7 separate regions of the Homo sapiens genome follow, and all the other regions are linked to region 7. Evidence: promoter capture Hi-C in 16 types of primary human blood cells and fetal thymus (Javierre and others, 2016). All regions are on one chromosome and are shown on one strand. The core of a region is centred on a gene start or on the middle of the fragment in contact, and the rest is flanking DNA. Distances in the headings are between cores, read along the strand shown. Region 1 overlaps STRN3 (striatin 3). Region 2 overlaps HECTD1 (HECT domain E3 ubiquitin protein ligase 1). Region 3 overlaps AP4S1 (adaptor related protein complex 4 subunit sigma 1). Region 4 holds the start of STRN3 (striatin 3). Region 5 overlaps STRN3 (striatin 3). Region 6 holds the start of TRAPPC6B (trafficking protein particle complex subunit 6B). Region 7 holds the start of EAPP (E2F associated phosphoprotein).

Region 1 (3,941 bases), core at 220-2,719, 3.6 Mb before region 7:
ACCTGTAAATATTCACTTTGTCTGCAATTTGTTAAAAAGAATCTGTCCATGAAAGTAATGTTTGAACAAAAGGGTCTCATTGTTAAGACTACAGACTAAAACATATTGCCATTTTCTATATAATCTTCAAAGAGAAACCTATAATTCTGGGTCACTGTCTTACTTGATAATTTGTTACCCTGTAACAATGTTGCAATTAACATTTACATTTCTTATTTAGAAGTCCTTCAGTACCCTGACTGTTTTAGCCTCTCCTCAAAGTAGCCTTCCTAGCTGTCAGACCTTTCCTGAAAGAGAGCAAGCTATCTATTATCTATTATTCTAGGTAATGACTAGATAAAAAAGAGGCCCAAAACAAACAAACAAACAAACAAAAAACAACCACACATCTATGGCTAAGTTAAAATCTGATTCGACTTCAATACAACTGGTATATTTCCCTACAACAAGAAATACAGGGAAGATGATAATAAACACTATGCACTATAATGTCATTTGATCCACTGAGACATAGTTGTAAGAACATATTGGACGACCGGGCGCGGTGGCTCATGCCTGTAATCCCAGCACTTTGGGAGGCCAAGGCAGGTGGATCATCTGAGGTCAGGAGTTCGAGACCAGCCTGACCAACATGGAGAAACCCCGTCTCTACTAAAAATACAAAAAAAATTAGCCAGGTATGGTGGTGCATGCCTGTAATCCCAGCGACTCGGGAGGCTGAGGCAGGATAATCGCTTGAACTCAAGAGGCCGAGATTGCAGTGAGCTGAGATTGCACCATTGCACACCAGCCTGGGCAACAAGAGCAAAACTCCGCCTCAAAAAAAAAAAAAAAAAAAAAAAAAAAAAAAAAAAAATGGAAATGCCAAACACCAGAAAGAGATCTACCTCTTCCATCATACTTATTCATAACAGAATATGAGGGAAAAATTTCAAATGGAAGGATCTACATTTAACTAACATGACTTGAAGAAATCGTAATAGCTAGGCAAGGTATTATGTCTAGTTAAGGATAAAATAACAAATCATAAGCGTGCAACATTAAGAAAAGCAAAAATCTGAGTTAAAATGGTTTCATTTGGCAATTTCGTATCTGAAAAGTCAATATATCTTACATAAAACAGCATTTTTGATCATCTCAAATTTACAGTATTACTAATATGAAAAGAAGACAATTTGCTTACCCGTTTTATTGTCAAAAAATTTGATGTGTCTATCTTCATGAGCAGTTATTGTAACAGGAAGTGTGGGATGACTTACTACTCTGTTGATATGATTATTAGATTGTAAACCTGAAAAATAAAGGAAGACAATAAGTTAAAATTCAAACCTTTAATAAGAAGTTGGATAATGGCCTTTTTAATCGTGCTAAAATATAAAAATCATTAAAAACTAAACCTTTTGCATAAAACAAAAAATCTGAGAACCAAACAAGGACTCTAGAGAGATTTTTAAAAAATAAACATTTACATTATTATGTCCTATAATATAGACTGTACTAGGCTCAAATTTAGAAAAACTGAGAAGTGTTTTAATGCCACCCTTTATTATAGGTAGTTTAGAATTTTTAAAAGATCCACAATTATTACTTCTAATACACAGTCCATATAAGAGTTATAAGCATTTAAAGAAGGAAAACATTCACAATTGCTAGTCAGATGTTTGTAAGGAACAACCCCCATCTACCTACACTGACAAAAACAAAAAAACAAAGAACTGGAATTAATGATCTTTAAAGATGAGATTTTTTTCTTTACCAGTAAGCTCTTACTAACTTTTTATTAAAGATGAGAGAGAACAGAGAAATATCAAAACAAATAAATGGGGGGAAACTCCTCAATATTAATAGACTTTAGATCATTCATTCTGCTTATGTATCGCAACTCATATATTACACCTAAACATATAAAAAATACATATATATATATAGTTACCTATGTAGAGTAATTAAAAAAATAGGTTTGAGGAGATACTGGGAAAGAGACTTAGAAGATAATTTTGGTTTAAGATCTGACCATGGCACCATGTAAATATTTTACATAATTATAAAACAATTTTTTTTGTTTAAGAGACAAGGACTCACTCTGTCACCTAGGCTGGAGTGCAATGGTGCAATCATAGCTCACTGTAACCTTGAACTCCTGAGCTCAAGGGCTTCTCCTGCTTCAGTCTCCAAAGCTAGGACTACAGGCACACATCACCATGCCCACCTAATTTTTTAAGTTTTTGGTAGAGATGGGGTCTCACTATGTTGCCCAGACTGGTCTCTACTCCTAGCCTCAAGCTATCTTCCCACATTGGCCTCCCAAAGTGGTGAGATTACAGGCATGAGCCAATGCGCCCAGCCAACAGTTGTTTTTCTAAAAGAAATTAATGAAAATCAAAAGTAAAATTAAACAAATGAACTTAAGTATATCCAACTGGTGGTGTAACTACAAAGGAAGGAACTATTCCAAGTGACTTTAAAGCATAGAAATTAGATTGTATATCACTAGTGGAATATACCCTAATTACAAAGTTTTATTATCAATATTTGATCTTTTGGTGGTAATGGTATTATTACTGAGACGATTCTGTGTACACTGTGGGGTAAATAAAATGAGAAACAATTTTGTTGAGAACCAAGATAAATCTGAAGTTGAAGTATTTTACTTTTTAAAAAATGTTTATTTCTTAGCTCTGTCCATTGAAAAAGCCTAACACAATGAACAACCCAGGAGCCATGAAGACCATGAGGATCAACTCAACAGCCTAGTACCCCAACTGTAGTCTCTAAATACCATTTCCCACTAAAAGAAACCACAACTCCTTAGATAAATAGCTGATTTCAGATCTAGGGCACAAAATGAACAACATGAACCTAGAAGATCTTGTCATATGTCATATCAGGAAGCTATCAACAACAACCAAAGTCATGGCAAAAGGACTCAGGAGCCAACATGAGCCCCACTGAGTAAGCCCCACTGGCCAAAATCAAAGGATCTGAACAGCAATAAATAAAGATAATACCTGCAATGGATCAAAACACATCAAATACATTTATATCCATGAGAGAGTATGATGATACCAAAAACACCACCCAAGACAAACTGGTCACCTTTAGAGGGTGCTAGCAAACCAACTCATTATTTTAAAAACTGGTAAATAAAGGGGAAAACCAAAACCCAATCATTTATCTTGCCTTTTTCCTTAATACACACTAACTCCAAGGTAACCAAATTGTTGATAAAGAGATGTTCTTTTTTATAGGAATAATCTAGCTAATAAATGGAGAGGGAATGATAAAATTAGAAAATCTTTCAATAGAAAATGAATGAACCCAGGAAATAATCCAGACTGAAAACATCACAAAAACATGAACAACCAGAAAATACTCACCTCTGATAAAAGCTTACAAATTACTTATGAAGTAAAGTTGCCAAGAACATTTAAAAATTTTTAAAAGAAAAAAACAGTGAACCTGAATTTGAATAAGTCTTTAGATCTATAATCAATTCACAGGAGAACTGTGAATAGAAATAGAGAAGCACATTAAATAACACAGGAATGCAACTAGCAAAATCCAGACTGTCGGAAACTTGACAAGACAAAGTAGCCAATTTCGTCAATTAAAAAAAAAAAAAAAAGAACATAAAAGAGATGAAGGGGAATCTATGGATGAAGAGAGACCTGAGAGACCTATCAAACAACTGCAATACATAAATCTTATGTGATCCCTATCTAAATAAACTGTAAAACACCACATAATGCATGTGTAATACTGGGCATTTATAGATAGGTATTAAAACTGAATGCTGAGTACATTAAGTTCATTATGTTATTTTCTCTACTTTCACCTTCATATTGCTCTAGACATTCCTCTTTTCCCATATGTCCACCCAAGCTTTTAAGCAAAATTTGAAGAAAAAGCAGACATAATATAAATAAGTATAACTGTAACAT
Region 2 (3,989 bases), core at 468-2,967, 3.4 Mb before region 7:
AAAAAAAAAAAAAGAAGAAGAAGAACATAAGGGTAGGAGGAATACAATGAAAGTCTGTATATAAAGTGAAAGATGTAAAGCCTTGGACATCTTCTAGAGATGTATCATATTTCTTGCAATTAGTTTATGATCCAAAAGTTAAAAACAAACCAGTTGGATTCACCCCTGTGACAGGAGACGTATTTCCACTCTTCCTCATATAGGGAATACTGTGTATATGAAATAAAACCAACAATGTCCACAGTAACATTTCTAAACTAAATATATTAAATGTCATACTACCATTTGCTATAACATGTCTCAACACAGACCAGTGATATAATACCAAGCACAATTCAAGTGAAACAATATTACAAAACCAGGTGCTCCCAAAATATCAAACAGCACAGTTTAATGTAAAAGTAAAAAAGAATCCCTTGTGAGTACTACTATTTTAGTCCAACTTTGTTATGAAATGGGTAGAAGCCCTCAAGCAGAACAAGCACTTTGCCACCTCAAGAGTGGAGATCTTCTTTGTTGCTCATTAATGGCACAAGACCTAACCCCTAAGGAGGTGGACTGACATCCTCTTATGAAAAAGATGCTCTGCCAGAGGAGAAGGCTTCTGCCTACAGAACAGGAAAACCCCTCTTCATGTTTACCTACCACAGTTTTTAATGCAGTGAAGATACACATTGGGCTGGTTCCCTAAGTGTCATTCCTGTTCCCTAAATCTAATTTTATATGAGATTACCTCAAGAACTGATTTCCGATCTGCATGTATTTGCATGACATTCTCAGCCCATTCCATCAGTGACTCGCCACGTGGAACTTTTACTCTTTCATGCTTGAGACGACCAACTCGAAACTCTCCAGGGTCATCTCGCCTAACACTGCTTGTGGTTCTCGTTCGCTCCACAGTGGCTTCACGTCGGTTCTGTAACCATACTATTGCTCTGAAATAGAAAAATATCTATGAGCTGCAGCATACGTTAACAGCTGAATGTACTACTAAACCAGCAACAGAATTCAAAGATTTAAGAAATTAAAAAATAGTATTTTATCAGGTGATTTTTAAAACACAGTAATCTTTTTTTGTTACATAAACTGCTTCCTGTCACAAGTAAAAATATATGAAACTCCTTTTATTATAATCTGCCTTAAGCAAACTGAGAAAGTACTGGGTCTATATTTTGCCTCCTTATTTTAGCAGTTCAATAAAAATAATAATCTGTTGTCCAAGCCCCAACATCATTCAAAAAAAGGAAAAATGTTTCCTATCAGAGAAATTTAGAAATGATTAAGCTATCTTTCAAACTGAAAGCCGCCATCAAAACGGTAATTATAATTTTAAAACAATTTTTCTTTTTTTTTTTTGAGATGGAGTCTTGTTCTGTCACCCAGGCTGGAGTACAGTGGCATTATCTCGGCCCACTGCAACCTCCCTATCCCGGGTTCAAGTGATTCTCCTGCCTCAGCCTCCCCAGTAGCTGGGATTACAGGTGTGTGCCACCACGCCCAGCTAATTTTTGTATTTTTAGTAGAGATGGGGGTTCTGCCATGTTGCCCAGGCTGGTCTTGAATTTCTGGCCTTAACTGATCCACCCGCCTCAGCCTCCCAAAGTGCTATGATTACAGGCATGAGCCGCCACACCCGGCCACATTTTCTTTTTTTTAATAACAATCCATTTATGGTGGGAGGAAGAACCGACAATTAGGAATAAGAAGCTGAAGGTTCTACTCTCATGTGTGCTACTATTTTCTCATGATCTTAGGCAAATCAGCTAAGTACGTGCAGAATCAATTTCCTCATTTATAAAACAAATTATAATCAATGCCAGTTATCACAACATGCCTATAGTTCTATGTATATAAATGCTTTGTAAATGGCATTAAATGGTACAAAAATGTAACTATCAGGGAAGAAAACAAACAGTTTAAATTATAACTTTTTTTTTACAACTATTTTGGAAGAGTACTTAAGGTAAACAATCATTCAACAAAATATTTATTGAGCACCTACAATGAGTCTTGCTCTGTTGCCCAGGCTGGAGTGCAGTGGTGCAATCTCAGCTCACTGCAACCTCTGCCTCCCGGGTTCAAGCAAATTCTTATGCCTCAGCCTCCTAAAAAGCTGGAATTACGCCCAGCTAATTTTTGTGTTTTTTTGTAGAGATGGGGTTTTGCCACATTGGCCAGGCTGGTCTCGAACTCCTGGCCTCGAGTGATGTGTCTGCCTTGGCCTCCCAAAGTGCTGGAATTATAGGCATGGGCCACCGTGCCCAGCCTGAAAACAGAAACTTTTTAAATGCTTTTTTTTTTTTGGTAAATTACTTCTTCCATGATTAGAGGGACTATCTTCAAAGTAGTACAAATATTTCGTAAATAATATCTGACCATTTTCTAACCAATTGAGTAATTTGTTGCACAATAAGCCATCTCACATCTTTCAGCAAGAAATACATTAAATTTGAATAGTAAAGACATTACACAATTAGGCTTAGGACAAAATTAAAATTTGCCTGAAGTATTTCTTTGGGGGAGAGGACACCACACTTCTACTCAAGGAAGAGAAACATTTTTACAGTCCAGAGGTCTTTTATTTTTATCTTTATTTTTTATTTTTTTGAGATGGAGTCTCGCTCTGTCGCCCAGGCTGGAGTGCAGTGGCACAATCTCTACTCACTGCAAGCTCCACTTCCCAGGTTCACGCCATTCTCCTGCCTCAGCCTCCCAAGTAGCTGAGACTACAGGTGCCCACCACCACACACAGCTAACTTTTTGTATTTTTAGTAGAGATGGGGTTTCACCACGTTAGCCAGGATGGTCTCGATCTCCTAACCTCATGATCTGCCCGCCTCGGCCTCCCAAAGTGCTGGGATTACAGGTGTGAGCCACCGCGCCTGGCTATTTTTTTTAAACACTATTATGCATGAATTCACAGAGAAGAGGTTCCAGCAGCTCAGACTTCTTTCCCTTGGTTTTCACACAGCGCGCTTCTCTGGGTGGAACAGGCTGGCACTTCAGCTAAATGCAGGTACCTTTCTCTTTGGCTTCCTTCTTTTTCTGATCATTTTCCTTCATGTGTTTCAGGAAGCTATCTCGGCTCTTAGAGTGCTTAATGTGCTCAATATGCACATTAATTCTCTTGGTAAGAATCTTGCCCTTGTTTGTTTACAACAATGCCATTAGCCACGCGTGGTGGCGTGCACCTGTAATCCCAGCCACTCAGTGGGGCTGAGGCAGGAGAATCGCTTGAACCTGGGAGGCGGAGGTTGCAGTGAGCCGAGATCACACCACTGCACTCCTGCCTGGGCGACAGAGCGAGACTCTGTCTCAAAAAAACAAAAACAAAAACAAAAACAAAAAAACAGCAATGCCAACAGCCTGCTGGGTAACACTGTAGACTCTTCCAGTTTAGCCACGGTAACACTTGTGGGGCATTCCTTTTTGAACAGTACCCATTCCCTTAATGTCTACAGTATCACCTCTCTTTTAGATTTGCATATACGTGGCCAAAGGAACAACTCCATGTTTTCTAAAAGACCTAGAAAACATCTATCGGGTATCTCTCCTCCTTTCCTTTGGATTAGTCATTTTGGCGAATTACTAGAAGATTGGTAGTTCAGGCCAAAAGGCAATGCTGACTATTCTTTATAAGAATACAAGATAATATATTCCCTCTATCAGTCTTGACAGTATAGTTGTACATTTTCAACTTACATAACATAAAAGCATACTTATTCTAAAAACATAAAAAAAAGGCTTCTTACCTTGAGGCGCCAAATGCTGTACATGTGAAATAAAGCTGTCTAGTTTCAAATGGTATTAGAAAAGGACATTTGCTGGTTAATTGTTCACACCAGTCTGGCAGAGCCCCACTTGCCAGTGCCAATGGTTCCTGCGAATTAACAAATAATAATGTCTTAGTGCTATAAGGCATTCATGCATGCATGCATTCATTCATTCGTTCATTTTTTTTTTTGAGACAGAGTCTCACTCTGTTGCCC
Region 3 (4,405 bases), core at 1,380-3,879, 3.5 Mb before region 7:
TACATTATATATATTTGTATACTGGGCCACAATGTAAAATCTTTCTCTCACAGTCACAGCTTTAAAAGTCTAAATTGCTTTTCTGGTAGGAGATCTCAACATGCAATAAAATGGTTATTATATAGACTACAGACAGGATTATCAGCTCTTTGTAGTTGGGAAGAGAGGATTGGAATAGGCAGGAAAAGCTTCACCAGGGAAAAGACAACATGTTATCATGATGACACTGGCTAATCCTTATGTAGCACTCGCTGTGTGCCAACTGCCTAGCCTGTTCTAGGAATGTTACATATCCTAACTCCTTTAATTCTCACAACAACCTAGGAAGTGAGTACTGTTACTGTGGCCATTGTACAGAAGACTGAGTTCTAAAAGATTAAGTATCTTGTCCAGGGTCACAAAGCCACTAAGTAGTAGAGCCAAGCAGTCAGGCTCCAGTTCATGCTCTTGACTATTAAACTATACTGTACTAGTACTACATGTTTTCTGGGTGAAAATTTGCTTTTTAACTTTGGGGATTTTATTTAAATCACTTTTCAGGAGGCAAAAAAGAAATGTTTTTGTCTGATATTACCTTAGTGTTTGTGTGTGTATTATTACAATGTTATGATTCTGGGGTACATAAAAAGCATTTAGAGCTAGAAAGAATGTTAATTGTCATCAACTATCATTTTCTTTTTTTTTTTCTTTTTTCTTTTTTCTTTTTTTGTTTTTTTGAGACGGAGTCTCACTCTGTTACCCAGGCTGGAGTGCAGTGGCATGATCTCGACTCACTGCAACCTCAGCCTCCTGGGTTCAAGCGATTCCCCTGCCTCAACCTCCCAAGTAGCTGGGATTACAGGCGCCCACCACCATGCCAGGCTAATTTTTTTTATTTTTAGTAGAGATGAAGTTTCACCATGTTGGCCAGGCTGGTTTTGAACTCCTGACCTCAAGTGATCTGCCCGCCTCGGCCTCCCAAAGTGCTAGGATTACAGGCATGAGCCACTGTGCCCGGCCTTATCATTTTCATTTCTAAATCTACATACTCTACTTTTTGTTTTCTCTTTAGAGACGAGGTCTTGCTCTGTTGCCCAGGCTGGAATGCAGTGGCTATTCACAGGCATGATCATAGTGTACAGCAGCCTCAAACTCTTGGGCTCAACCAATCTTCCAAGTAGCTAATACTATGGATGCATGTACCTGGCTACATACCATACTTGTTTTTTTTCTTTTCTTTCTTTTTTTTTTGAGATGGAGTCTCACTCTTGTCGCCCAGGCTGGAGTGCAGTGGCGCGATCTCAGCTCACTGCAACCTCCGCCTCCTGGGTTCGGGCGATTCTCCTGCCTCAGCCTCCTAAGTAGCTAGGATTACAGGTGTCCGCCACCACACCCAGCTAATCTTTGTACTTTTAGTAGAGATGGGGTTTCGCCATGTTGGCCACACTGGTCTCGAACTCCTGACCTCAGGTTATCCGCCCGCCTTGGCCTTCCAAAGTGCTGGGATTACAGGCGTGAGCCACCGTGCCCAGCCTATACTGTACTTTTTCATGCAGTGATTCGTTTGGCATTTTCCAGATTAATTGTGCAGCGGTGTTAGAAAAGAGAATAATGACTGGATCACTTCCAAAGCTACCTGAAGTTAATGCTCATTAAGCTCAAGTGAACATTTGGCTGGGCACAATGTCACGTCTATAATCCTAGCACTTAGTGAAGCTGAGGCGTGTGAATCACTTAAGTCCAGGAGTTCAAGACTAGACTGGGCAACTGGAAACCCCGCCTTTACAAAATATACAAAAGTTAGCTGGGCATGGTGGTGTGCACCTGTAGTCCCAGCTACTTGGGGGGCTGAGGTGGGAGGATTGCTTGAGCCTGGGAGGTCAAAGTTGCAGTGAGCTGTGATTGTGCCACTACACTCCAGCCTCGGTGACAGAGTAAGACCCTGTCTCAAAAAACAGAACAAAAAAAAGCTTAAGTGAACATTTAATGACACTGATATGTAGAGTGAGGCAATGTGATAGATTAAAGACAGCATTGTAGTATGAGTCAGGGGAGCAGAATTCAGGACTTCACTCTACATCTCTGATCAGTTTTCCCATCTACAAAATGAAGGGAATACACCTCAGGGATGACAAATATAAGGTGCATATGTTGCCACTCCCTGCTTCCTAACCTACAACTGACATGCCATCCTTTTGTTTTGAACCTGGAAGCAGCTCCAGAATCCTTCCCAAAGCAGCTATTAACAGTTAGTCACAGTTGACACCCAAGTTGAAACCCATTTGCCATCTTTGGATATGACAATCTGTAAAGACTCTCCTAGGTCTAACTCCCAGAAATACGCCATCAGAAATATAATACCTGCTCAATTCAATGTGTACTTCGTTCAGCCTCTTCAATCTCTCTTTTCTCTGGGCATTAAGTTTACATCATGTGGTTGCTGGGACATGGATCTGAGCATATTCTACTTTTATGTTGTTTTGGTTTATTTTATTTTTATTTTATTTATTTATTTTTTGGAGACGAAGTCTTGCTCTGTCACCCAGGCTAGAGTACAGTGGTGCAGTCTCGGCTTACTGCAACCTCCGCCTCCTGGGTTCAAGTGATTCTCCTGCCTTAGCCTCTCAAGTAGCTATGATTACAGGCACCCGACAACACGCCTGGCTAATTTTTTTGTATTTTTAGTAGAGAAGGGGATTCACAATGTTAGCCAGGCTGGTCTCGAATTCCTGACCTCAAGTGATCCACCTGCCTCGGCCTCCCAAAGTACTGGGATTACAGGCGTGAGCAACTGCACCCAGCCAGTTGTTTTTTTTTTTTTTAGAGATAGGGTCTCCATCTGTCACCCAGGCTGGAGTGCAGTGGAGTGATCATAGCTCACTGTAGCCTAGAATTCCTGATCTCAGCCTTACTCTCCCAAGTAGCTGGGATTACAGACATGAACCACCACACCCAGCTCTTGTTTTTTCGCTTGTTTGTTTTTTGTTGTAGAGGCATGGTCTCCTATATTGCCTAAGCTGGTCTTCAACTCCTGGCCTCAGGTGATCCGCCCACCTTGGCCTCGCAAAGTGCTGGGATTACAGGCATGAACCACCTCGCCTGGCCCCGTATTCTACTCTGAATCTACCAGTCTCACTAGTCTTAAAAGCATGTTCATGCTAATCCAAGGAAAATGCTTGTTTGATTCCTGCTCTAAGTAACCTTAACCTTCTTTTCCTCTCGGGGTTTTCTAGATTCCCTTGCTAGGGCATCCTAGCACCATTTGTGTAATGCTTTCCCCAGTGAAGTTGCCTTCTTTCTTCTTCCTTGATGTATATACACACATTCACACAAGCTTTTGCCTGTAGCATCTACTGACTTCCTTCCTGGTCATCAAAACATCTTCCCCATCTCTGTGTGTGTATGTGTGTGTGTGTGTGTGTGTGTGTGTGTGTGTGTGTGTGTGTGTGTGTTTAGAGATAGGATCTTGCTCTGTTGCCCAGGCCAGAGTAGGAGTGCAGTGTTGTGATCATAGCTCACCACTGCCTCCAATTCCTGGGCACAAGCAGTCCTCCCACCTCAGCTTCCTAAGTAGCTGGGACTATAGGTACACACCGCGATGCCTGGCTTTTTTTTTTTTTCCTTTTTTTTTAGTAGACATGGCGTCTCACTGTATTTCCCAGGCTGGTCCCCAACTTCTGGGCTCAAGCTATCCTCCCACCATGGCCTCTCAAAGTGCTACAATTATAGGTGTGAGCCACCACACCTGGCCCCTTGTGTGTCGTTAAATGCAAATAGTTTAAAACAGGAAGTTCATACCTGCTCCCTGACCACTCCCAACACTTGTCTAAGCATATTCCCTTCTTACTGTCCTACCTCAGTTTCATAATTATTTCATCTCCCTCCTCCTTGATGATTAATAACCATGATAGGTGCTTACAGCATTCATCTTCAGTTCTCAGATGTGTACTTGTCTCTTGAGTCTCCACATTGTTTATTTTGGCATTGTATATTCTATAGTAAAAATAGTTTACAGTTGTGTTTCTCTAGTTTTTTACCACTGCATCATGCTACAGTTAAAATTGTCTAATGTTTAAGAGCATGCAAGAAAAGAAAGATATATGCAAGTCTTTAGAAGCCTTCATTTACTCTTTTCAAAACTTAACATCCTAATGAATATCAATTCAACATGTCCTTATTTGTCATCCTTGTTCTTGAAGTCAGTGGGAAGGAATGCTGTGCTTGTAAGGTAGAAACCAATTTGATCCCTTGTTGTAACACCTCAGTGAGATCTTTTTACATCTCATTTTACCACTTAATGCAAGCAGGACATTTAAAGGCAAAGGTTTGGCCATGAGTACCTTTGAGACATTTTTTTCCTTTTACCTGGCAGTTGAAATCCAAGGTATAGAATTATAATTTCTAACTATCATAAAGATGGTTTTTA
Region 4 (4,082 bases), core at 260-2,759, 3.5 Mb before region 7:
AATAAACACAAATACCCAAGAAAGTTAAATAACCCTTTCAAAAAGATGCAGCAATTTTGAGATCCAGGACATGAGCTGTTAACTACCAACAGCTTCCAAATGTGCAGCCTATCAAAGGTTCACATTATGAGGATCGAGTCAAGCTCAACTATGAAGGGTTCCGAGAACATCTCACTTTGCTTCTCCTGCAAGAGTAAGTAACATGATATAACTACGTTTCACTTCAAGGGAATATTAAATCTCTTCAGTCGTTTCATAAATACAGCATCGATCGTCTGGTTTGGTTTTTTTATAGATAAAGAAACGGATGGGGGAAAGGAGATCTAGTGGAGAGTACTGTAAAAAGAAAAATTCAGTGCTGAAAGCGTTGATGAGTCACTAAGTAAGGAATAACTACAGAGAATCCAAGTGAGTAAGGCAGCATCTCAGGTGAGAAAGTACTTAAAGTTGACGATGGGAAATAAAACTTCACAGGTCAGTCCCAAGTCACTGTGCACCCTAGCAGCCCAGGAAAGAAGCGTGGCTGTCAAGGGGCAAGCGCGTACCAAGTCTGAGGGAGGGGGCCAGATACGCCAAATCGGAAAGGGGGGTGGTCCGGAAAAGGGGGGTAAGATGCCTATCCTAGTCCCTCTCTTCGGGCTCTTCATCTCAAGAGGAACAAACAAGAGCAAACTCAGTGTTGAGAGGCCCCAAACCGGACTCTCCCACAGAGAGGTGCTCGGTCCCAAGCCCCGGAGGCCCGGGAAGGCCGCCTCCGGAGGAGCCCCCGCAGACGCCATACTAAAAGCCAAAATGGCTGCCCCGAGGAGGCCCGCACCGCGTAGCCAGTGAAGGTTGGGGAGCAAGCTTATGCGGGAAAGAGGGAGGGGGACTCCAGGAAAAGCCGTTGAGAGGACCATCACAACCTGAGCAGCACAGGTAGGTTCCGCTCGGCCTCCCAAGGCGCCGGCTCCGGCTGAGTGGAGTCCCCAGCCCCACCCCCCGGCCGGGAACCCAGCCGCCGCAGCTCCCGCACACCGACCCCAACGAGGTACCTGCAGTTCGGCCCGTTCCACCTCCCAGTGCGCCCGCTCCATCTCGAACCGAGCCCACTCGTGCTGGATGTAGTGCAGTATCCCCGGGATAGTGTACTGCTGCGGCCGGGACAGCTCGGGGCCTGCCGCGGGACCCGCTCCCTCGGAGGCCGGAGGACCCCCGCCGCCCGCCGCTCCGTTCCCCCCGGGCGAAAGGCCCAGGTTCCCCCCAGGTCCCTGCTGCTGCCGGGGAGGGGCCGCCATCCCCGGGCCGCCACCACCGCCTCCGGCAAGCTCGTCCATTGTGTGTGGGGCCCCGGCCGGGGCGCAGGGCGAGACGCCGACAGCTGGGGGAAGGGCCGGAGAGGGTGGCCCCGCGCTGGCTGCGGGGCGGAGGCCGGCCGGGAGAGGGGCGGGGAAGGGGTCGTTGCTGTGTGCCTGCCGTGGGTCAGAGCAGGGAGCTGCCGGCTGCCGCCATTACAATCCCTCCTCCATCTGCCCGTCTCACTCACTCACTTTAGGGGAAGGGGGGGCCTCGGCGGGAGGGGTGGGGGGAGAGTTGGGAAGGGGATAGGCGGAGGGCCGTCACTAGCGCACAGCATGCTGGGTAGCGAACGCAGCCTCACGCTTAATCGCCAAATAGAGTCCGGCCTCACCCTACGCCGGCGCACTGAGAACGCAGCCCGGGTCGCCGTTAGAGGGCGGGGAAAGAGCTCGGGCTCCGCCCCTAGGCCCGCCCTCAGACCCGATCCGGTGTCTGGCCGCAGCTACCGGACACCTGGGCTCCGACTCTGACTTTTGGAAGCGAGGCGGCCTTAGGCTTCCTGGTTATCAGTTTCCTTTTAGCAGGCCGTCCCCGGGCGCTGTTTCCTTCCCAGGGGTCTCTCACCCGTGTCCCGGCTTTCTGAGCTGGTTGTTAACCTGGCTGGTCGCTCTGGCCGACCGCATCCCGTCTCGGATTCCTGACGTTTCTTTTTCATTCTTTGAGTGTTTCAGGCAGTCCCAAGGGTGGGCCCTCTTTCCCTTCCTGTCACTCGCTCTGCCTCTGGTTTCTTAGAACCAGTCAGTTCTCTGCTGGCAAATAGCCAAGATCCTCCGGCTGTGGTTACTGATTCCTCGTCTCTGTCTTGAGCCTGGGCTTTGGTCCCATTTCTATGCGCTCGGTCGCCCGTCGTAACTTATTCCACTTTGCGTCCCCTCTTCTTTCCTTTTCTGGAATGGGTTGTGGGGGGGTTGGGAGAGGGGGAGGAGCGATTTTTTTTTTCTTGGGAGAAGAAGAGGTAGTGAATTCCTTTAGATCTTGACGATGATGGGTAGAGGGAGAGAAGTTTGAAGGAGACTGGCTAGACTAACAATTTGATACGGTAGAAATGAATGGGCTCACAAATATTGTCATCAATAGACTATTTTGATCGAAACAGAAAATAAAAGCACTGTGAGTACAACTTAAAATCCTAGATGAATGTTCTCCTGGGTCATTAAATGTTTAAGTGAATATGGCCGGGCGCGGCTGCTCAAGCCTGTAATCCCAGCACTTTGGGAAGCCGAGGTGGGCGATCACTTGAGGCCAGGAGTTCGAGACCAGCTTGGCCAACATTGTGAAACCCCATTTCTACTAAAAATACAAAAATTAGCCGGGCATGGTGGCGCACACCTGTAGTCCCAGCTCCTGGGGAGGCTGAGGCACGAGAATTGCTTGAGCCCAGGAGGCTGAGGTTGCAGAGAGCCGAGATCGCACCACTGCACTCCAGCCTGGGCGACAAAGCGAGACTCCGTGTCGGCAAAAAATTTAAAAAGTTTGAGGAATGTAACATATACATAAGAGACAAGGCTAATATTTTAAGTACAATAGTGGGTACTTTTATGTGCTTAGTTTCCTAGAAAATATCCTAATGCACTAGTGTGTTTCTAAAAATTAATATAGCTAAGAAGCATTTGTTTGAAAAATAAGACAAAAATAATTAACAACATAAGGAAATTAGGTTCAGTAATTATATTAATAGCGATGCAGGAAAATTGCATTGAAAATTTGTTACTTTTTAAAATTTTTTTTCTTTACTGCAAAAGCCAATAAAACTTGTACTATGGAGTATGCACTACCAACCAATCAGGAAGTAATTTCAAAAGAGATTAAGTAATGCATCTTATTTTATCACATCTGCTTTACTGTTATTACAGTTTAATGGAAAGCAGATTGGACCTGTTACTCATGCTGCCATGTTTTATTTCTATATGAAATGAGATCTTAGATTGCAGTACTATAATGTTAAGGACCATTTCTTCAAATTATTATTTTATTTATTTTTTTTTTTTGAGACAGGGTCTCACTCTGTTGCCTGGGCTGGAATGCAGTGGTGTGAGCTCTGCTTGTTGCAACCTGGAGCTCCCTGGCTGAGGTGGTCCTCCCACTTTAGCCTCCTGATAGCTGGGACTCCAGGTGTGCATCCACCAAGCCCAGCTAATTTTTGTATTTTTTGTAGAGACGGGGTTTTGTCATGATGCCCAGGCTAGTCTCCAACTCCTGGCTCAAGTGGTCCACCCACCTTGGCTTCACAAAGTGTTAAGATTACATATTTCTTCAAATTATTAAAGTACTATTTATCTTAGAGTTACCAACATACAACCTGTTTATTCATCCAATTCCTTTTTAGGGGGCGTCATAGCACATAAAAAGCTCAGAAAAATTATGCTGCCTCAAAGACATACACACACATACACACACACACACACACACACAGAGACATTTGTGGCCAGGTGCGGTGGCTCACACCTATAATCCCAGCACTTTGGGAGGCCGAAGCGGGCAGATCACTTGAGCTCAGGAGTTGGAGACCAGCCTGGCCAACATGGCAAAACCCCGTCTCTACCAAAAAGTACAAAAATTAGCTGGGCGTGGTGGCGCTTGCCTGTAATCCCAGCTTCTCTGGAGGCAGAGGGGGCAGTGAGCCGACATCATGCCACTACACTGTAGCCTGGGTGAAAGAGAGAGTGAGATTCCATCCCAAAAACAACAACAACAACAAAAACCATTTGTGAGAATGGTTGACCTGATGATAGCATCAAAAGAAG
Region 5 (4,153 bases), core at 1,165-3,664, 3.6 Mb before region 7:
CATTTACCTTCCATTTGGAAAACATGTATAAGGCTTCACTGCATGGATGCGTGTGAGGGACAGGTATGCTTCTAAAATGCTGAGAACAACCAAAGCAGATCCAAAGCGAAAAAGAAAAAAACACTGGCCTCCTGAAGTGTTCTAAGATTAAAAGAAAATTAAGAGAAATACGTATTTTTATTTACATTATCTAGCTCGGTCAACCGTTTAGAAAACATAGAAAGGGACAGTCCATGTTTTACTTAGAAATGTGTGCTTGGCTGAAATGCCTTCAAGAACTCAAGCATTTCTCAAGAATGTGATTATTACAGTAGTAGCTAGATAGTAGCCAGAAAGGACATATTTGCAAATAAGACAAGTACCTAACCTAAAAGGTAATAAACCTTTTAGCTACTAACACTATTCCTATATTTCTTTTACTTTCCATACTATGCAGAAAACAAGTTCCTTGAAAACACAGGCCACATCATTTTATCCTACTATAGTGCTACCCTAGCATCATGCAAATTACATTTTCCATCCTGCATAATGCAGGTGCCAGCTAATACTTATTGAATAAGTTAATGTTTCCCCAAGTCTTGGAAATAAATAGAAAAAAGTACAATTCATTTTGGCTCACACCTACTTTAGTGTAATGTAGTGCCACTCTTAAACAGAAGATATCAACTATTTTTTTCAGTAATGAAACTGTTAAAGGAAGGAAAGAAAAATCAATGGTGAATTTCATCTCTCACACATACTACATATTTAATTTACTCTTTATAGTCTTTCTCAAATCCACAAAGCAAAAAGTTCATTTTTTTATATTTTGGTATCTCCATTTATTTCACTGTATGGAAGGATAATCAAAAAAAATACTCAAGCTCTAATTACCAACAAAATTTTGTTTCTTAATTTCAGTGTTTGCATAAACTTACCCTCTTTATGGTACAAGAAGGCATACAGTCCTTTAAACACACTTACTAGTACAGGCTGTACACTGTGATAGACTCTGAGGATATAAAGAACAGTAAAACTCCAAAGAAAGGGCAAGAGTAACGTAGAGGCATGGCAGCCGGAAAAAGAAAATATAAAATACAATTTAAGGGCCAGGCGCAGTGGCTCACGCCTGTAATCCCAGCACTTTGGGAGGCCGAGGCAGGCGGATCACAGGGTCAGGAGATCGAGACTATCCTGGCTAACATGGTGAAACCCCATCTCTACTAAAAATACAAAAAATTAGCTGGGCGTGGTGGCAGGCGCCTGTAGTCCCAGCTACTCAGGAGGCTGAGGCAGGAGAATGGCGTGAACCCAGGAGGCAGAGCTTGCAGTGAGCTGAGATCGCGCCACTGCACTTCAGCCTGGGTGACAGAGCGAGACTCCATCTCAAAAAAATAAAAAATAAAAAAAAACATAAAATAAAATTTAAGCTGAGGCTAGAGAAATACGTCACAACCAGGCCATGTAGGACCTTGAGGTTCATATTAGAAATTTGGAGGAGCCATGGTAGCTTAAAAAGTAAAACAATAAAATAATCAATATTTGCATTCCAGAAAGATTATTCTGACTACTCGCTGTGATTCTGCCCACAATATTTTCTTACATTCAATCAGTTGAATATAATTTTTTTTTTTTTTGAGACAGACTCTCGTTCTGTTGCCCAGGCTGGAGTGCAGTGGCGCGCGGTCTTGGTACTGCAACCTCTGCCTCCCGGGTTCAAGCAATTCTCCTGCCTCAGCCTCCCAAGTAGCTGGGATTACAGGTGTGTGCCACCATGCCCAGCTAATTTTTGTATTTTTAGTAGAGACGGGGTTTCACCATGTTGGTCAGGCTGGTCTTGAACTCCTGACCTTGTGAATCGCCCGCCTAGGCCTCCCAACGTGCTGGGACTACAGGCGTAAGCCACCGCGTCCAGCTGTTTTTCTCACTTCTTGCAGTGCTTTCTTCCAAATGTCTTGTATATTAAAGCAAGTTTTACATTCCTTCACTGGACTGTGAGCCCTGAACAGAAGCCAAGTCTTCCATTATTCCAAACATTCAATAAATGTTTATTATACTGAACAAGACTAACACTGATTTGACATATTAAAAAACAATGTCCAAGATGCTCAGCTAGGTCCTGTGACACGAGCAGCACTTTGGCCTCATAAGCAAATCCTAAAAGGTATTATCAACCAAACTCTGACCCTTATACTCAAACTAAAATTAATAAACAAAAAGCTGTTCCAGGTATTAACTTTTCTAAGCTTATCTCTTTATGCCCCTTTCTGCTAGCACCACAACCTATTTTTATTTGTTATTTACCTTTCTTAATTTTACCAAATATATTTACTCAACGAACATATACAATACAAAGTAGAAATCTGCTGAGCCCAACTACAACAAAATTAAAGCATATCAATGAATGGAGATGAAACAGCAAAACTTGGTTGGAATGCAAATTTATTCCTTAAAATCTGAACATTTAAAAAGAGAAAGAGAATAATTAATAAAGAAAATGAAGTCATGGTACAATTATAAAGCAGGTCCTCTCACTTTTCTCTGACAAAGTTTTGAATGACTCATCTACTGTCCTAACAGGCTATTTTCAAGGTTCTCTCCATTCTACCATTATCCTACATTTTCAAGCTTATTTTTCATCATTCCTCTGTACTCTACCACAAGTGAAACATGCAACATTCCTCAAAAAAGACCTTGCACTTTACAGCCATCCAACTTTTGTTCACACTATTTATACCACAGGAAGTGAATATTCCAGCTCTATAATCTCCACTTCCAATAATGAATTATAATTATTTTACAAATTAGGCAACTAAGCCACCCCCTCTGGAAGTAAAGTGTCTTGCTCACGGACACTGTCTTGGCTAGTAAGATAGAAGAATCAGGACAGTAGATCTCAAGTCTACTGGCTTCCCAGGGTCCAATGCCTTCACTACCCCAGGTAGATTCTTAACCTTCAAAAATAAAAAGACTCATATGAAAAGGAATTTGAATCATCCACAGAAAGTAGTCTGGTCAAGTTCAAGATAAAGAGAGGGGTCAGTTACCTTATTCTTTGGCCCACTAAGCAATCACTTAAAGACCCCTGTTCTAGTAACCTGCCCAGCCTGGACCCTGCCACAAACAGATTCTGACTACCTTCTTCACCGTGAACTTCCTCTATCTTCACAGCAATGGCACCCATACCTGGAAGAGATGGCTTGCTGTTATATACCTAGGCCTGACTTCAAAAGCCTTCCTCTTCATGGCAGCCCAATGATATAGTGACTATTTCTCCAAAGGTAGTAGATTGGGAGGTAGCGAGACAGCAGCAACAAAACAGTCATTTAAACACAGGATTTTTATTTATTTATTTATTTTGAGATGGAGTCTGGCTCTGTCGCCCAGGCTGGAGTGCAGTGGCGCAATCTCAACTCACTGCAAGCTCCACCTCCCAGATTCACGCCATTCTCCTGCCTCAGCCTCCCGAGTAGCTGGGACTACAGGTGCCCGCCACCTCGCCTGGCTAATTTTTTTGTATTTTTAGAGATGGGGTTTCACTGTGTTAGCCAGGATGGTCTCTATCTCCTGACCTCGTGATCCATCCGCCTCAGCCTCCCAAAGTGCTGGGATTACAGGCGTGAGCCACCGCGCCCGGACAAAACACAGGATTTATAGCCAGACGGTAGGAGATTCCAATGCATAATTCCAACCCTAACACATACTAACTCATGTGACCCTGGGCAAATTAATTACCTCAGTTTCCATATCTATGAAATGGGATGATTAATATGAATTGTCTGTCATCAGTTATTGAAAGACTCACAATGGTGACAATGAAGACTAAATCAAAAAAATGGAAGGCTCAGATACTTTAAGAGCATGTGTGTCATTTCAATTCAGAAATGTGGAATGGGACAGAACAAGAGGCTATAAACTCAGGAAAGAGGGACTCCTATACACATTTCCTGAAAAAATCCCTGGGCCTAATGACTCAAGGAGTTAAAGAGAAGTAACAGTAAACCAGAGTGGCAAGAGTGTTCTAGCAGTCTTCTGAGGGCACTATGACTTTTTTTTTTTTTTGAGATGGAGTATCACTCTGTTACCCAGGCTGGAGTACAGTGGCGCAATCTCGGCTCACTGCAAGCTCTGCCTCTCGGGTTCATGCCATTCTCCTGCCTCAGCCTCCCAAGTA
Region 6 (4,123 bases), core at 453-2,952, 4.6 Mb after region 7:
CCTTTTCTGATTAATAGTACCACCATCCAACCCAGCTGCTCAAGCTGAAAACCTGACGATAATTTTCAACTCCCACTCCCATCCTTAAACAAGGCCTACAGAATTCCACTTTCTAACTTTCAAATCTGTTATCTCCTTTTCTCACTATCCCTGTCTTAATCCAGATCTTCATCTCCTCCTGCAGTGACTCCCGTAATAAAGGATTTTCCCCCTACAAGGATCTTCCCTCTCTAGCCCAAACACTGGATTACTTTTCTAAAATGCAAATGGTCCACATCATTCCCTTCCTTAAAAATATTCCCTCGAAAAGATCCGAATTCTTTAATTACACAAAGCTTTCTAACTTCACCTCTCAATTCTTCTCACTCTCTATTCAGTCTAGTCCAAAGAAATGCTTAAGTGTATTTAAATCCACCACTCTTTCATACCTCTACCACTTTATCTTTGCCTAGGATACATTTCCTATCCCCACTCTCCACTCATTTTTTATCAATAGCATTAAAGAAAGGGCTCCTGACTTGAGCATGACTTTGGAGTATTTCTAAAATCCGTTACAACTCCATGATTCTACCAGCCAATACTCAGTGTTAACTATTCATTAAATCACTATTCCCTAAATACTGTGAGGCAGGAGTATTATTTTATTTAATTTATCTAGCAGTGTCAGCAGTGACAGGCCCACAATGATTGAATAAGGACTCCCACATATTAGAAGTAACCGCTACATACTATCACATTTCGGATTAAATTAGATTAAAAAAAAATCTCTACAAGGATGGGGCCATTGTTTCATTCACTACTATATCCCTGGCACCTAGAAATCGCTCTGACATAAGGGCACTAAATAAATACTTTCTGAAATAATTAATTTAAATTATGTTCCCTAATTATCCTAACGCCTGCAAACTTTCCTTTGCAAACTCAACCTTCATTAGGCTTCAGGTCTCAAGTTGTGTGGAGTTGTACTGAGCATTAGGAATGAGGAAGGAGGGACAGGCTTCTCAGGTTGGCACAGGTCTGTCCAGTGCATGGCTCAAGTGCTGGAAGTGCCAGCAAAACTAAGTAGGCTCTGCAGTTAACCCTCTCGTAAATAATGGCAGGGACAACACTAAAAGTACCAAAATCTGTGGCGTGCAAGACAAACGTACGGGAATAGACAAAAGAGAATCAAATAGAAGAAGATACGAAAGAGAAAACGATGAAAGATGACGGTTCAAAGGAGACAACTGACAGGTTCTAGGGTTTAGGACACCTGGAGGTGGACCATTTTGTGTACACCTCGGGAGGCGTCGGGTGGCGATGGGACAGGGGTTGAAGGAAAGCACTGAGGGGAAACAAGGTGTGTCACCGCAAAAGGACCTCAAGGTTGTGTGGCAGCACTCACCACCTCCCCCTGCTCCGCGGACTTGTACACTCCAGACACCATCTCGTTATGGAGAAGCAAAAACAACGCCTCATCCGCCATTTCCTGCTAATTCTTCCAAGCTTCGAGTTTTGGCTCCCGTTTGAGCTGGTCTGGGGGTTCCAGCTCGCGCCTCAGCGACTTCGCCGGCGCCGCGGCTCCGTCAGGCCGCCATTCTATCCCTGTGGCTAAGAGACCGAGGTATTCACACGACTTCCCAAAGGCTGGTACTGAAATGAGTCTGGTACTGGAGAGAGCCCACACTTCGGGGCTACCAAATCCTAGGGCCGAACTAAAGTCTGACGGGAGCTCTAACCAAAGCCAACCAGCTGAGATGCGATCCGGCCGCTGGGCGGGGGCGAAAAAAACAACTTCCGGTCCCCTCTACCCCGGCATTCGGCCAGCTCTATGATCACTGAGTTCCTCTCTCCCAAGCCCGGAGAGGCCAGCGCCCAGATATGAGGAAGGTTCCCCTCTCACCACGATGTCGGGGGCAGAGCAAGATAAAATAAGACCTAAAGCTCCCGCCTGGCCCGGGCGCGGTGGCTCACGCCTGTAATCCCAGCACTTTGGGTGGCGGAGGCGGGTGGATCACATGAGGTCGGAAGTTCGAACCAGCCTGAGAAACCCCGTCTCTACTATAAGTACAAAATTAGCGGGGCCTGGTGGTGCATGCCTGTAATCCCAGCTACTCGGGAGTCTGAGGCAGGAGAATCGCTTGAACTCGGGAGGCGGAGGTTGCGGTGAGCTGAGATCGCGCCACTGCACTCCAGCCTGGGCAACAAGAGTGAAACTCCGTCTCAAAAAAAAAAAAAAAAAAAGAGCTCCCGCGGCCACCTCCTTGTTAATTAGCAATAGAAGTTAAAAAAATTCTTTTGGCTTCATCAAAAGCATCCACTTCCTGCCATATGTTCTTCAAATATGAAAAGTTGTAGAAAGAGTTTAAAATATACGTTTTCACAGTGCAAATTTTTTAAATATTGAAAAGTTATCCCAATTCCTATTGAATTAAGCCCGGGTATACAAAAAGAATTAGAGCCATTTTGACCACCAGGAATTTTCCTGTTAGTGGGGTGCAAGGGACAAGGGAAGTGGAGCAAACGAAAAACAAGATACACTTGAACCGGAAAATACAGACTAATCAGAGGATTAGGTGAAAAGTGCTATAGAATTCAGAAAAGCGATGTCACTGCAGGATGGAGTTGCTAATAATCTACAGCAGTGTGAGACAACTGTAGGAATTGTCCCACTGCATGTGCAAATAAATACACATGCTACATCATAGTATGTACATCTTAAATTTGGCAAATTCAACCGTAAGCATGTTGCTTAGCCTGTGATTAGTTCTTCCATTGGTAATTCACAAAACAAAATTTTTCCCCAATTGTCCCTGTTGTTTTCCCCCAAATTAACATACCGCAAGGTGGCTCATGCCTGTAAAATCCAGCACTTTGGGAGGCCGAGGCACGGGGGGTGGGGGGGATCACGAGGTCATGAGTTTTGAGAGCAGCCTGGCCAACATGGTGAAAACCCGTCTCCACTAAAAATACAAAAATTAGCCGGGCGTGGTGACAGGTGCCTGTAATCCCAGCTACTCGGGGGGCTGAGGCAGGAGAATCACTTGAACCTGGGAGGCAGAGGTTGCAGCGAGCAGAAATTGTGCCACTGCACTCCAGCCTGGGCGACAGAGCAAGACTTCGTCTCAAAAAACGAAACACACACACAAACTCTTCATGCCCTTTCACAGGAATTTAAGATCATGTTCCAAAATTTTAATTGTGGTAGGTTTTTTTTTTAAGCATGTCCCTTCTAATGTTTGAATCAGTTTATTCCATTCATCACGTAAATCCAGCATAAAAGCTCCACTTAAGCCTTTGAAAACACTAAATTGTGTAATTTTGAAGAGTATTTTGCCATGGTAATCTTAATTTTTCCAGCACTAAATTTTCAGTTATGCGAAATCAGGTCCTTTATGTCTAGATGACATTCTTGCCCTCATCACTACCATCAAGAAAAAGGAGTCCAAGTCCACCACACAAGTCAAAAAGTAAGTAAATGGCCAATTTATCAAAGTTGACTTCTCCAACCACAATAACATGAGGCTTTTAAAGTACGTTTCTGGATAGAAAGGAAACTTATTTAATGAGGACCTACTAACTATTGAACACAGCATCCTACTTATCCTTCTCCATAAAGTTAAATTGCCAAGGCTCCTAGGAATAGATCCTATGGAAGCAAGGACAGTGAGTGTGGTGTGTGTGTGTGTGTGTTTTGAGACAGAGTTTTGCTCTTGTTGCCCAGGCTGGAGTGCAATGGCACTATCTCAGCTCACTGCAACCCCGCCTCCCGGGTTCAAGTGATTCTCCTGCCTCAGCTTCCCGAGTAGGTGGGATTACAGGCATGCACCACCAAGCCCAGCTCATTTTGTATTTTTAGTAGAGACGGGGTTTCTCCATGTTGGTCAGGCTGATCTCGAACTCGTGACCTCAGGTGATCCGCCTGCCTCGGCCTCCCAAAGTGCTGGGATTACAGACTTGAGCCACTGTGCCCAGCTGTGTGTGTTTTGTTTTGTTTGAGACAGAGTCTCACTGTTGCCCAGGCCAGAGTGCAGTGGCATGATCTTGGCTCACTGCATGCAACCTCCACCTCCCGGGCTCAAGCAATTCTGCCTCAGCCTTCCAAGCAGCTGACACTACAGGCACTTGCCACCATGCAGGACTA
Region 7 (4,124 bases), core at 1,481-3,980:
AGAGTACACAGGATCTCTCTGTATTATTTCTTTTTTTTTTATTATTTTTTATTTTTTGAGATGGGGGTCTCCCTGTGTTGCCCAGGCTGGAGTGCAATGGTGCCATCTTGGCTCACTGAAACTTCCGCCTCCCAGGCTCAAGCCAACCAACCGCCTCACCCTCCTGAGTAGCTGGGACCACAGATATGCACCACCATACCAGCTAATTTTTTGTATTTTCAGTAAAGACATGATTTCATCATGTTGCTCAGGCTGGTCTTGAACTCTTGAGCTCAAGTGATTCTCCTGCCTTGGCCTTCCAAAGTGCTGGGATTACAGATGTGAGCCACTGCACCAGACCTGTATTATTTCTTATAACTGAATGTGAATCTACGAAAACTTCAAAATAAAATGTTTAATTTTTAAAAACTGAATCACAAAGTGAGAGCTATTTTTTCTACAAATTTTCTTCAATCCTTGTCATTATCTCAACCAAAGTCTCAGTTTTCAGCACTGCTGAGAAAGGCAGTCATACATCATGGACCCTAGATATGCAAGTTAAGTATGCCAAGAATGCAAGGTTCTGACCACTGTTCACTCCAGCCATTTCTCAGGATTGTGTTTGCAGCGAACAACAACCTTGAGGAATGAGATAATGTCTCCTTCCAGGACAAAGAGCAGATGTATTTACTGTCTTCTATGAAAGAGGTGGATTCTCCAAGCTCAAGTAGTCTTTAGCCACGATGCCAACCCACTGAATGTGCAGCATTCTTCTAGGACCCTCAGCGTAATACCTGTAGGGTTGACAAGCAAGAGCAAGCCACACAAACATGATGCTCATGCTGCTTGCTGTGCTATGTGTAGTCTTATCTTTGACCCAGGAGTCTCATGTCTTCGGTCAGCTACCGTGAAACAGTTAACAGGCTACAATGTATTAGTTTATAAACAGTGTAAAATTAAATACTGACAGACACCTCTCTAACACTAATCTCCCTTTTTAAAATAATAACCATTTGGCTCAGAGCCTACAACAGGCAATACTGTCTGATAACATTGTTTTGTTTTTATAATATTTATCTTTACAGTTACCTTACCAGTGGCAACTGTCACAGAATTATAAAGCTTCCTTAAAAAAATGATACAACAGTCCTGGCTCCGTGGCTCAGGCCTGTAATCCTAGCACTTTGGGAGCCCGACGCAGGCAGATTGCCTAAGGTCAGGAGTTCAAGACCAGCCTGGCCAACGTGGTGAAAACCCATCTCTACGAAAAATACAAAAAATAAGCCAGGTGTGGTAGCGCATGCCTGTAATCCCAGCTACCCAGGAGGCTGAGGCAGGAGAATTGCTGGAACCCAGGAGGTGGAGGCTACAGTGAGCCAAGATTGCACCAGTGCACTCCAGCCTGGCTGACAGAGTGAGACTCTGTCTCAAAATAAATAAATAAATAAATAAATAATTGAGACATACATATATACATACCTCCTTTCACAGACAGGACCCATTAACTGAAACTCTTTTTCACAGGGAATCCTGGTATCTATCCTCACTCCCAACAAAAGAAATCTTAACAGCAGTCTGATTTCCCATGCATCCAATGTCTCCCCATGACAATATGAGGAAACATTGTTCTTTTGATTTTTTTTTTTTTTAAGAAATGAGGTCTCACTATGTTGCCCAGGCTGTTCCTTTACTACCAGGCTTAAGAGATTCTCTCGCCTCAGACTCCCAAAGTCCTGGGATTACAGGCATGGGCCACCACACCCAGCCAAAGTTGTTAATGAAAGCATGGCTTTACAGAAAGCTTCTTTAGGCAGAATGAATGTTTTAAAGTTTAAGAATAGGATCTGCTGACAGCTTAAGAAATAACTAAATTTGTGTGGAAATATCTCGGCAAAACAGCTTCAAGTTTCCCTGGTAGAATAAAGCCCACCCTTCTGGAAATCCCACGAACCTTCTTCTGTGCCTATCTCAGGTCAATATTCTCTACAATGCTCTGCCAAGAAATATATACTTTATCTTATTACCCTTATTATACTATAAGCCTCTGGAAGACAAGGACCTTATGATTTATCTCTGTAGCTCAGAGCGAGCATACAACAGTCCCTGTCAAAAAATAAAAATAAAAAAGGCTGTTCAATATTCCCTTATTTCTGTTTATGGCAGTTTAGTCTTCAAGATGGACACTTCACATTAAGTCCTGTGAGCCTCACAACAAACATAGTGTGTTATACTATGTTATATAGGTTATACAATTATGTTATTATAGTTCAATTTTACAGGTGAGTAATCGAGGATAACTGACTTGCCTTCCGTCACTCTGCTACTAAGGTGTAGAGACAGGTTTCGATCTCATTGCTTTTGAAGATTTACACGCGGTCCCCCGTGATTCCGGAATATCCCTCTTCCTACAGGCGACATCGGCACCGCCTCCCCCCGGGACTGCGCGACCCCATCAGGAAAGCCCTTTGGCTTCGCACAAGTAACAGGCACGACAGGCTCCCGAGCCGCTAGGGTCTGCGTAGGCTCGGCAGGCGCAACGAATGGAGGCGACCAAAGCCAGGCCTCGACCCAAATCCTCGGGGGCCAGGGTGGGGCGGGAGCCCACCTGCTCAAAGCCGGCTCCTCGTCGCTAGGCTCTTCAACCGCGTAGGGGTCGTAGTCATCCGGAAGCCGGTTCATGGTGGCCTGCAGCGGCCTACACCGTCCACAAGCAATTTGCAGCGTCTCTGTTTACACTGCAAGTCCAGTCCCTAAAGCGCCCCTGACGCCACTTCCGCCTGAACGTCCCAGTCCCCCTTGCGCGCCCGCGCAGACCGACAGCACCGAGGGAGGCAGGTAGAAGGCGGGGAAGGGGCGGAGCAGGAGCGAAAAGGGGCGGGGACGGGACGGGGGCGGGTCTTAATCCCACCATTTTTGTTTTGTTTTGTTTTTTGGAGACGGAGTTTCGCTCTTGTTGCCCAGGCTGGAGTGCAATGGCGCGATCTCGGCTCACCGCAACCTCCGCCTCCCAGGTTCAAGCAATTCTCCTACCGCAGCCTCCCGAGTAGCTGGGATTACAGGCATACACCACCACGCCCGGCTAATTTTGTATTTTTAGTAGAGACGGGGGTTTCTCCATGTTGAGGCTGGTCTCGAACTCCGGACCTCAGGTGATCCGCCCACCTCGACCTTCCAAAATGCTGGGATTACAGGCGTGAGCCACCGCTCCCGGCCAATCCCACCATTTTCTTCCGCAGCTTCTGCTTACAGGAAAATAGCAGCTACCTTGTCACCAAAAATAATAATGATGGGCACCCTCATAAGTGACAGTCTCTGAGGTGAACATGCTACATGCAGCGTCTCATCACCTACGAAGCAGGAATCTAGACGCTGAGGGACACACAGCCCGAAATCCAATAAGTCCTCAGACACCAGCACCCACATCCCTCCAACCTCGCCTCTAACCCTTATGCCTTCCACACCATGAGGCTCTCAACCTCTCCTTCACACTGTTCACTCCTCAGTCTGACTGCGGCCTCAACAATCTACGAAAAGTTATCTTTTCTCGTCATCTTCCCAGTCCCCACTTTTGCTCAGCCCTCAACTGATCCCACTCGATACCTGAGGAGAACAGGCAGATGACAGCCACTTGAGCTCCATCGGGAGACTGTTTCTAACCCTGTTTCTGAACCAGGAACTCGGGTTCCTGCCTCCTACCGAGACACTGTGGCACTCTCTAAAATGTGGAGTAGCTGTAATAAATCTACTCCTGTATTATGCTTTACAGTGCAGGTCTTAGTTTTTCTTTTTTCTCATTTCTTTTGAAATGGCATCTCGAACAAAGTCCACCAATCCCTTTACAAAAGAATGAACTGCTCCTCTGTGTGTACTTCATAGAAGGTGGAATCGGACAGAAGCAGGTTAGTGACAGTTATTCCTGAAATACAGGAGCAGAGTACAGTCTGTTGTGGTTTCCCGGATTCCGCGCCTAGCTCAGCCAATTAAGCATGAGACATAGGCCATTGAGCCACTTAGTAGTTATGCGAGTGGATAGATTGGTATGTAGAGGGAAAGAGGTCTGCTGTAAAGAACAACACTTGTTTGTCTGTGGGGAAAGAAAAGCAGAATACTTGAGATGAAAGTTGGCATACAAATAGGATACTATC

What was found. The method cuts DNA at HindIII sites, captures the fragments that hold promoters and counts their contacts. A CHiCAGO score of 5 or more calls a contact.
Region 1: a fragment that was not itself captured here is called in contact with the fragment with the promoter of EAPP in region 7 in 1 of 17 cell types (M0 macrophages); the score reaches 7.0 in M0 macrophages.
Region 2: a fragment that was not itself captured here is called in contact with the fragment with the promoter of EAPP in region 7 in 1 of 17 cell types (monocytes); the score reaches 5.4 in monocytes.
Region 3: a contact is called between a fragment that was not itself captured here and the fragment with the promoter of EAPP in region 7, in 1 of 17 cell types (erythroblasts). The highest score is 5.4, in erythroblasts.
Region 4: a contact is called between the fragment with the promoter of STRN3 here and the fragment with the promoter of EAPP in region 7, in 1 of 17 cell types (M0 macrophages). The highest score is 6.1, in M0 macrophages.
Region 5: a fragment that was not itself captured here is called in contact with the fragment with the promoter of EAPP in region 7 in 1 of 17 cell types (M0 macrophages); the score reaches 5.1 in M0 macrophages.
Region 6: the fragment with the promoter of TRAPPC6B here is called in contact with the fragment with the promoter of EAPP in region 7 in 6 of 17 cell types (total B cells, non-activated CD4 T cells, fetal thymus and 3 more); the score reaches 17.7 in total B cells.

The regions. Positions count from the first base shown.
Region 1 is chr14:30,901,353-30,905,293 of GRCh38, forward strand. STRN3 (striatin 3) reads right to left here. Exons shown (of 18, transcript NM_001083893.2): 16 at 1,184-1,291. Among named protein-coding and RNA genes, the nearest start is that of COCH-AS1, 14 kb to the left of the region's middle. The HindIII fragment of the contact is 3,836 bases long and covers 1-3,387 here.
Region 2 is chr14:31,108,664-31,112,652 of GRCh38, forward strand. HECTD1 (HECT domain E3 ubiquitin protein ligase 1) reads right to left here. Exons shown (of 43, transcript NM_015382.4): 35 at 3,753-3,880; 36 at 734-935. It also overlaps the pseudogene RPL21P5. Among named protein-coding and RNA genes, the nearest start is that of STRN3, 84 kb to the left of the region's middle. The HindIII fragment of the contact is 6,849 bases long and covers 1-3,989 here.
Region 3 is chr14:31,055,146-31,059,550 of GRCh38, forward strand. All of the region lies in intron 1 of AP4S1 (adaptor related protein complex 4 subunit sigma 1), which reads left to right. Among named protein-coding and RNA genes, the nearest start is that of STRN3, 31 kb to the left of the region's middle. The HindIII fragment of the contact is 1,364 bases long and covers 1,948-3,311 here.
Region 4 is chr14:31,024,870-31,028,951 of GRCh38, forward strand. It overlaps STRN3 (striatin 3), which reads right to left and starts at 1,510. Exons shown (of 18, transcript NM_001083893.2): 1 at 1,035-1,510. The coding sequence starts at 1,316. It overlaps AP4S1 (adaptor related protein complex 4 subunit sigma 1), which reads left to right and starts at 780. Exons shown (of 6, transcript NM_001128126.3): 1 at 780-918. RefSeq lists enhancers at 459-558, 629-738, 1,849-2,008 and silencers at 728-909, 1,049-1,308, 1,399-1,718. The HindIII fragment of the contact is 12,759 bases long and covers 845-4,082 here.
Region 5 is chr14:30,986,140-30,990,292 of GRCh38, forward strand. All of the region lies in intron 1 of STRN3 (striatin 3), which reads right to left. Among named protein-coding and RNA genes, the nearest start is that of MIR624, 27 kb to the right of the region's middle. The HindIII fragment of the contact is 382 bases long and covers 2,224-2,605 here.
Region 6 is chr14:39,168,631-39,172,753 of GRCh38, forward strand. It overlaps TRAPPC6B (trafficking protein particle complex subunit 6B), which reads right to left and starts at 1,703. Exons shown (of 6, transcript NM_001079537.2): 1 at 1,385-1,703. The coding sequence starts at 1,465. RefSeq lists enhancers at 1,161-1,750, 1,510-1,559, 2,341-2,930. The HindIII fragment of the contact is 6,900 bases long and covers 1,484-4,123 here.
Region 7 is chr14:34,536,971-34,541,094 of GRCh38, forward strand. It overlaps EAPP (E2F associated phosphoprotein), which reads right to left and starts at 2,731. Exons shown (of 6, transcript NM_018453.4): 1 at 2,585-2,731. The coding sequence starts at 2,658. LOC105370447 (a long non-coding RNA gene) reads left to right here and starts at 2,779. Exons shown (of 2, transcript XR_943739.1): 1 at 2,779-2,814; 2 at 3,216-4,124. RefSeq lists silencers at 573-867, 2,809-2,908 and enhancers at 1,934-2,858, 2,509-2,668. The HindIII fragment of the contact is 15,759 bases long and covers 1,779-4,124 here.